Linked DNA regions of Homo sapiens: region 1 is linked to region 2. Evidence: promoter capture Hi-C in 16 types of primary human blood cells and fetal thymus (Javierre and others, 2016). All regions are on one chromosome and are shown on one strand. The core of a region is centred on a gene start or on the middle of the fragment in contact, and the rest is flanking DNA. Distances in the headings are between cores, read along the strand shown. Region 1 holds the start of RNF19B (ring finger protein 19B). Region 2 holds the start of SYNC (syncoilin, intermediate filament protein).

Region 1 (4,369 bases), core at 1,766-4,265, 260 kb after region 2:
TTGAAAATTATTTTCTGTGCATTTTTATTGATGTGAGCAAAGACAGAAACTGACTTTAGAAAAATAAAAAAACAAACAGGGACCTTTTCCAGAAAGATGATCTGCCACATTTCTTAGAACTCAAGGAAACATCTCAGAAAGGAGTTAATGTACTATTCCAAAATTAACTATGCAGTGTTTTGTTTTTTTTTTTTCTTGAGACAGAATCTCGCTCTGTCACCCAGGCTGGAGTATAGTGGCCTGATCTCGGCTCACTGCACCTCTGCCTCACAGGTTCAAGCGATTCTGCCTCAGCCTCCTGGGTAGCTGGGACTACAGGTGTGCACCACCATGCCCGGCTAATTTTTCTATTTTTAGCAGAGACAGGATACCACTATGTTGGCCAGGCTGGTCTTGAGCTCCCGACCTCAGGTGATCCACCCACCTTGGTCTCCCAGAATGCTAGGACTATAGGCGTGAGCCACCGAGCCTGGCCTGTGTTCTCTTAATATTCGTTTGGTTAAGAAAACAGATCAACAGTATCTGTAAAACTTTAATATAAATTAACCTCAGAGGGCCAGTAAGATCACTAGACATAGACAGTTCCATGAACCTAAAAGGTCCTTCCTGATACTTATTAACTGAAAGTGAAAGTGAGCCACCATAAACACCATTCCTTTGACCACAACACTTCAAAGTAATTTAGAAACCCCATCTCAGTGAGGTTAAATAGCACACCCATTTCTAAACAAGTTTGGCAGAATTAAAAACAGAAGTTAACTCTTCTTACTCTCCTAGACACTCTAAGACAGCTCCTTTTGAAAGGAGACAACCAGCAGCATCATGGAGATTTCAAAACCACCTTGATATATAGGCTACAATTAAAAGTCCTTAACTCCTTTGAAGCTAAAGATCACACAACTTTTTACTAGCATTACGTTTACACACTGCAAGGACTCCCCAGCATCTTTTTGTCGCCAAAACATGACACACAAGAATAAAATTATCTGCCCAAGGTCACAGAACAGGTAATGGCTGTCTGACTCCCAACTACTTAAATGAGCCCCTCTTCCTGCGTGCAACCCCTTCATGGGATATACTGACAGTAACAATTAGACTTCTAAAGGCGGGGAGGGCGAGGAAGGTCTCCACTGAATGCTTCAGATAGCAAAATCTGGTGTATTATGTCTCTGCAGATATTGCATATTTTAATTTACTGCCCTTTAAAATTCAGCCTACATGGTGCATTAAAAAGACTGTCATCAAGAACTCAAGATCAAAGGGGTTCAGAAACACAATTTCTCCTATCACACCAACCTCTGGGCATTCTTCTCAGTGCCCCCATTGAGACTCTGGACAAAGAACATATCTGTCTACCCCTCACCCTACCCAAGGCAGCAAGGTAAGAACGACAGAGTGCCTCCCGATAGCGTGGCACAGAACACATAGTGCTCAGGGTACCCGAGAGCCTATTCCCCAGTCACCTCCATCCCAACTTTCAGCGGTGGTTGTCAGGGAGAACACGCCTTCTTCTGCAATGCTAAGTCTGTCCCTAGCCAAGTGGACACACCCCTCCGACGCGCTGCCCCCTCAGAATATTCTCATTCCCTCCTTGGCCAAATATCCCCTCCCCACTCTCATTAAGAGATACTCCCCACCTTGGCCGGGAGCGGTGGCTCACGCCTGTAATCCCAGCACTTTGGGAGGCCGAGGCAGGAGGATCACCTGAGGTCAGGAGTTCGAGACCAGCCTAGCCAACATGGTGAAACCCCATCTCTACTAAAAATACAAAGAAATTAGCCGGGTGTGGTGGCGGGCGCCTGTAATCCCAGCTACTCGGGAGGCTGAGGCAGGAGAATCGCTTGAACCTGAGAGGCGGAGGTTGCAGTGAGCCGAGATCGCGCCATTGCACTCCAGCCTGGGCGGCAGGGCGAGACTCCGTCTCCAAAAAAAAAAAGAAAAAAAAAAAAAGATACTGTCCTCACCTCCGGACAGAGGGCATTCCCCCAACAAAAAAACCGCCTCTCCCTGTCTCCTAACTTGGACAGCTCCCTTCCCCTCACCGAATGCTTAGCAGCCACCTCGAGCCCTGGGGCAGGGGGCGGGGTGTCGGGTGCGTTCACACCACTAGTCTGGGCTTGCCTGATGGTTACCACCCCGCCGAAGCTGCCGCCTTGCGGGTTTCCCTGCTTGGGACACCCACGCGGGGTCCCTGCTGCCCCCAGCCACGCCCCTCGGCTGCAGCCCGCCGCCACCCGCGCCACGCCCCCGCGCTCACCCGCAGTCCGGGGCCGGGCACCAGCGGCAGTCGGGGTCCGAGGCTAGGTAGCGGCGCAGCATGAACTCCTCGTACTTGTGCATAAGCGGCGGGTCGGCGAGCAGCAAGCGGATGTCGTGCGGGTTGAGTCGCTCGCTGCACTCGGGGCAGCTGATGGGCACCCTGCTCTCGCTTATCTCCAGGCGCAGGTAGTGGCGGAGGCAGTCCCGGCACGAGCGGTGCGGACAGCTGAGGAGGCGCGGGGCCCGCTCAGGCGGCAGCCGCACCAGGCACAGCGGACACTCCACCTCCTCCGCGCCCGGGCCACCGCCCTCCGCCGCCTCCTCATCGTCGAACCCAGGCTCCGCCGCCGCCGCCGCGGCCTCCGCCTCGGCCTCGGCGGCCGGCTCGGCGGGCAGCGCCTCGGGCGGCGGGCCCTGGGCCGCGGCAGGGGCCGGGGCGGGCGGCGGCTGCGCAGCCGGGGGCGGCGGCTCGGCCTGCGGCTTGGCCCGGGCGCGGCGGCCGCGGGCCGAGGCAGAGAAGACGCTGTGCAAGGTGAGGCGCCGGCGCCGGCCGCCGCTGCGGCACTTAGGGTCGGGTGCGGCCGCATGTAGCGATGTGGAGCGCGGCGACTCGGAGTCCTTCTCGGAGCCCATGGCCGGCAGAGGCCGAGGAGCCAGGGGCGCCCAGCGCCGCCACAGCTCCCGCCTCAGCGCCCCTCAGCCAGCGCCCGGCCGCCGCCGACGCCGCCACCACCGCCTCAACCGCCCTCCCGGCGATAGAAGCCGAGCGGCAACGACGAAGTGATTATAAAGCCTCCGCCCCGCGCGCCGCTGCCCTGCGCAGGCGCTTCGCTCAAACACCTCACAACCCTTGCGCCCCGGTCTAGGAGTGCGCTGGGCAGGGCCGAGCGGGGTGGGGCCGAGCGAGCTGGGGCGGAGCTCCGCCTCCTGCCGGTCAGGTGGTTCCAGGGCCGCCATGTTGCGGAGACTCTCAGAGATCCTAGCCCGCTGCTCTCCCTGGTCTCCGCCTCCAATTCCATCACCATGACACCCAAGGTGGACTTTTTGGTTTGCCGTTCCTCACAGGTTGATTGCCACTTCCAGTAAATGATGGTTCAGTTACATTATTTATAAAAAGCAGGCAGGGGTTGATCAGATGGTGACTCCCAACTGGTTCACCTTCCAACATTTCTGTTTATTAAGCAGACGGCATAAATTAATAAAGAATATATTCATTCACTGAGCTTCTACAAAGTGCGAGGCATTAGAAAATAAAACAGACAAGGTCCCCTATTGCAAGGGACTTCCAGAATAAAGTCCAAATTTCTTAGTCTAGCATTCAGTGTTCTCTATGTATTTAATAAACCCTATGTATATAATAGTCTATTTCTAGGCTCACTTACCATTCTATCCTCCTGGTATCTTGCTTACTTACCAAACTTGTGGAAGGAGACCCAGCGTTTTCTTGCCTGGCAGTGCCTTTGCCTTTCTTTTTCTAGTTCCCCATTCCTCTGACTGGGGGAGGATCTGGACCCTTAGGCTTCCTAGTGGGAGGCAGGCAAACAGCTTCAACAACAGGAATGTATCAGGATTACATTCAATTGCAAATAACAAAAGAAAAAAATAGCTTACGATTGAAATTTATTTATTTTTTTTCCTGAGACGGTTTTGCTCTGTCACCCAGGTTGGAGTGCAGTGGCGTGATCACAGCTCACTGAAGCCTCAACCTCCCAAGCTTAAGCGATCCTCCCACCCCAACCTCTGGAGTAGCTGGGAGCACAGGTGCGCCACCAGGCCTGCCTATTATTTTTATTTTTTTCATGGAGATGAAATCTCCCTGTGTTGCTCAGGCTGGTCTCGAGCTCCTGGGCTCAAGCGATCCTCCTGCCTTGGCCTCTCAAAGTGCTGGGATTACAGGCATGAGCCGCTGCACCTAGCCAGAAATTTCTCTCTTTCCATGAAATATAAGTCCAAAAGTAGGCAGTTCAGGGCTGTTCAGCCATCCTCAGTATTTGGCTTCCAGTGTTAAGGTCACCTCACTATGGTCCATATTCCAAACAGTGGGAAGGAAAAAGGGAAGAAAGATGCATCCTCTTCCTTTTAAGAAGACTGCCTTGGGGCTGGGCGCGGA
Region 2 (4,388 bases), core at 1,596-4,095:
GGTTTCACCATCTTGGTCAGGCTGGTCTCGAACTCCTGACCTCATGATCCGCCTGCCTCGGCCTCCCAAAGTGCTGGGATTACAGGCATAAGCCACCACACCCGGCCCCAAACATACCTTTTTTAGCTTCCTCTCACATTATTCCTGCAACCCACCCAATGCTTGACATCCTAGAGCTTGCATTAACTTTTTACACCTCCTACTCTAAGCCCACGGTGTCCAGCTGAGAATTGCAGCTTCTCAAAAACCACCTAACTAGAGAACCCTGTACTACCTGGGAAGGCAGAGCTCCTAGAGCCAGGGCCAGGAAGGATGCACCTGCTCAGCCAGCCAAACTCACTCTGATATTCAACAGTCCCTGCTTTCCCAGCAGACGGCCCTTTCATCATTCTCGTGCCGAGCCGCCCACCTTGGAATGACTTCACCGTGTTCAAGATTATTCTAGGCATTTTACATGAATACTCATTTATAGAATCCTCATCATCTATTGGCTGGGTGCAGTGGCTCACGCCTGTAATCCCAGCACTTTGGGAGGCCGAGGCGGGTGGATCACCTGAGGTCAGGAGTTTGAGACCAGCCTGGCCAACATGGTGAAACTCCGTCTCTACTAAAAATACAAACGATTAGCTGGGTATGGTGGTGTGTGCCTGTAATCCTAGCTACTCAGGAGGCTGAAGCAGGAGGATTGCTTGAACCTGGGAGACAGAGGTTGCAGTGAACTGAGATTGCGCCATTGCCCTCCAGCCTGAGCAACAAGAGCAAGACTCTGTCTCAAAAAAAGAAAGAAAGAAAGAATCTTCATCTATTATCTCCATTTTATAGATGAGGAAGCCAATGCACAGAGTAAGAACTCACACAAGGTTCCACAACTGTTGTAAGTGGTGGAGGCTGGAGAAGGCCTGCAGTATTTACCACCCTCCTAGGATAGGCGTGAGGTCCAAAAGAGGTAACTACAGCACATATAAAAAGCCTGGCATGCAGCAGTCACAATATACTTTTTTTTTTTTTGAGATGGAGTTTCACTCTTGTTGCCCAGGCTGGAGTGCAATGGTGTAATCTCCGCTCACTGCAGCCTCTGCCTCCTGGGTTCAAGCAAGTCTCCTGTCTCAGCCTCCCAAGTAACTGGGATTACAGGCACACGCCACCACGCCTGGCTAATTTTTGTATTTTTAGTAGAGCCGGGTTTCACCATGTTGGCCGGGCTGGTCTTGAACTCCTGACCTCAGGTGATCCGCACACCTCGGCGTCCCAAAGTGCTGGGATTACAGGCGTGAGCCACCGCGCCGGGCCCACAATATACTTCTATCTATCTAACAAATTTCTACTCATCCTTCAAGCCCTGCTCAAACTTCATCTCTTCCGTAAAGTATCTCCCAGACAGCCCCATGTGTGTTCTCAGGGCACTCTGTATGCAGCACATCTTCACACTTATTGCTCCAGTTACAGAAGTACATGTGTCTGTCTCCCTGATAGTGAGTTTCCTAAGGACAAGCAGAGTTCTCATTCTGCTCTATATCCTAGGGTGGGGCTCTGTAAGGGCAGACAGGCAGAAACCAGATGAACTCCAAGGAGGAAATCTGCCCAAGGTCGAATGGCAAAGCTGGAAGTAAAACCCAGGCCTCCTGACCTCCAAGCTGTGCTGTTAGCACACATCGTGCTGCCTCCACCACCCCACCCATGGTGCCAGGCCTCTGCTGGGTGCTGCCCTCACACAGCCGCCTCTTTTAAACAGAGAGAGGAGGGAAAGAAGCAGATGACAGGAGGCTCAGAGGAGAGGAAGCCAGCTTAGTTGGGGCCCCTGACCTCGGGCTTCCTTGGGCCCTGGGCAGCCTGCCTCTGCCACTCTGTCCCTGTCCCCAGAGAACCGCAGAGCTCTCCAACCCTGTTCAGGGATGTGGCTGGGAGTCCATGTGACATTGTGCAGGCAAGAGTCCGTGTGTCTGACTGTAGCTGTAGGTGTGGACAGCAGTATGGGTGAGTGTGTGTGTGTAAGACCGCTCAGCTTTGTGCCCCTGTGTGACAGTGAAGGGGTGTCGGGAGCTATGTATTTGCACCCTCACCTCTTGGTACACTGGGAAGTCCCAGAGCCACAGTATGACCTGGGACAGAAATACACCTCACCCCAAACCCCTCAGCCACAGGTCCCTTCCCCCAATAATCAGCCGTGCCCTGCCAGGAGGGATAGTGGGGAGGGCCCCTGGACCCTTCCCCCACCCATCCCAGGCCAGACGGGAGAGAACAAGCCCTGACAGACTCTTAACTTCAAGCTGGCAGATGCCCAGCCTTGCACCAAGTGGCTTCCACACAGCCACTTCAGCAGGGGAGGCCTCTGTCTCCAACTGACATTTGCAGGGAGGAATGAAGGCTAGCGAGAAGTGTCTTTGGCTGCTATGGGCCAAATGGCACTTGAGCGGTGGATGCCCACTCGCCTGGAAGGGTTAATTTTCATGTAGTCCCGGGAGGGGGAGGGGTATTATAAAAAGCCACAGACAAACGGAGGTGCCAGGACCCCGGGACGGCCCGACTCCCCGATGTCCCCTCACGAGGCGGCTCCAGTGCCCCACCCCGGCTGGACCACTACCCCTAGACAGGCGAAAGACGCCCGCGGTCGGGGGGAAAGGGAACCCGTCCAGCAGCACCCCTTCCCCAGCGGGGCGGCGACGCGGGCCCGGCACTGTCCTACCTCGCGGCCTGGGCGGCGCCGTCCCCGCCGCGCCGGGGCTCCGGGCTGGCCATGGCTGCGCGACCCCGGGCTGGCGGCCGCGTTATTAATAGCCGGGCCCGCGGGCCCCTCGCTCCGGCGCCCGCGCCCGCCGCACTGCCAGCTGCAACCGACACCGGATCCCGGCCGGCCCCGGGCCGGGCGCGCCCACTTGGCCGGGGCTCCTGCCGGGGGAGGAGGGAGCGGCCGCGCGGACCTGGGGGCGGGGAGAGGCTGCCCCTCCCGGACCAGCCTGGGGCGGGGGTGGGAACGGGGGCCTGGAGCTGTCTTTCCAAACCTCCCAGCCCCCTCGTCTTCCCGAACCTTCTCTCCACCCTTCCTTTCGTGAGGTCCCGTTGCAGGGGGAGTCAGAAGGGGGGTCTGAAGCCCCAGGGAGCACCTTCCCTGTCCAGCCTGGGAGGGTGGAGGCAGGGTTGGGCGGGCTGCTCAAAGGGAGCCAGCACCCCTCTCCCGCGAGTGTTTGGGGGTGTCCGCTGCCGCTCAGCGCCCTCTGGTCCCCACCCAAGAGGGGAAGGGCCGCAGCCACCCTCTGGGCACTCCGGGCTGTCCCCGGCAGCTGTCGTGAAGGGCGGGGCAGGGCGCGGCCGGGGAGGAGGGTTCACGGCCACACCCCGCGCGTTTGGGGACAGCCTGGAGCCTGGGGGCGGGCTGGGTGGCTGGGGTTAGAGAGAACTGCGGAGGAGTTTACGCCTATCACATTGAGTCCATATTTAACCCCACTTTCTGCCCCACCCTTTGAGGCTTCCTGGGGTCTCTCTCCTGCTCCACCTGTCACCCCACTCAGCCCACTTCTGTCAACTTCAAGACATACCTCCCCCCACGTCCTCAGCCCACTAGTGTGAGGGTCAAACCAGCACTGACGTCTTTCTCCCCAAGAGAGAAGCTGCTGGGCCCCTTCCCAGACCTGGGCTTCAGGCGTTCTTCCTTCGGATTCCTTTTTCCACTTAGCTACCCTGTCTGGGGAGGTCTTTGACTCAATCGCAGAAGAATGCTGGCACCATAACAAGCCCCAGGGGCTGGGGTGCCTGGGAGGCCGGTGGGGGAAGCATGCCGTGGTGTTGAATGTGTGTGGGCTTGTGTGCCCCTGTGTGACTCTGCGGTGATTGTGGGGTACATGTCTGTGTGTGAGCATGTGGATGTGTGATTGTGTGATCTCAGGGTGAATGTGTGTGGTGATTGTGCCATGGTGGAGTGTCTTTGTGGGGCTGGCGGTTTTGACTCTGTGTGGGGGGCATGCATATGGTCCCGCTTGTGACTCTGACTGTGTGCTTGTGCGTGACTGGGGGTTGATAAATGTTCATTCATCCTCGCGTCTGAGTGTGCTGCCTGTGGCTGTATATTTATATTTCTCTGTCTAATGCAAGGGGGTGGAAGATTTAACACCCAGGGCAGCCAAATATACCCTTGTAAGGTACGCACGAGAAAAAGCCAGGTTTTGAGGCTGCTGGTCATTTTCTGACTTACCCCCGAACTATTCCAGGGGAGGAGGCTGGCGAAGCCTCAGCTGCTGGGCATTTGACATCTGCTGCCCGCCAGAGGAGAGCTAAGGCAGCAAGGGCAGGCCTGCCAGAGGCTCTGTTTGCTGTGGTACCAAGCAACAGGCGGCAAGGGTGGCATTCAGAAGAGCTGGCTCTGCCCCTCCAACCCCCAGCCCAGGACCTGGCCT

The links. Contacts are between HindIII fragments. The CHiCAGO score rates a contact against its expected background, and 5 or more counts as called.
Region 1: a contact is called between the fragment with the promoter of RNF19B here and the fragment with the promoter of SYNC in region 2, in 2 of 17 cell types (naive CD8 T cells and M1 macrophages). The highest score is 6.0, in naive CD8 T cells.

Annotation. Positions count from the first base shown.
Region 1 is chr1:32,961,794-32,966,162 of GRCh38, forward strand. RNF19B (ring finger protein 19B) reads right to left here and starts at 3,016. Exons shown (of 9, transcript NM_001300826.2): 1 at 2,258-3,016. The coding sequence starts at 2,892. RefSeq lists silencers at 2,161-2,370, 2,731-3,300 and an enhancer at 2,611-3,115. The HindIII fragment of the contact is 3,974 bases long and covers 1-3,971 here.
Region 2 is chr1:32,699,925-32,704,312 of GRCh38, forward strand. It overlaps SYNC (syncoilin, intermediate filament protein), which reads right to left and starts at 2,846. Exons shown (of 5, transcript NM_030786.3): 1 at 2,684-2,846. The coding sequence starts at 2,736. RefSeq lists enhancers at 2,314-3,079, 3,080-3,845 and silencers at 3,206-3,255, 3,306-3,395. The HindIII fragment of the contact is 11,042 bases long and covers 1-4,388 here.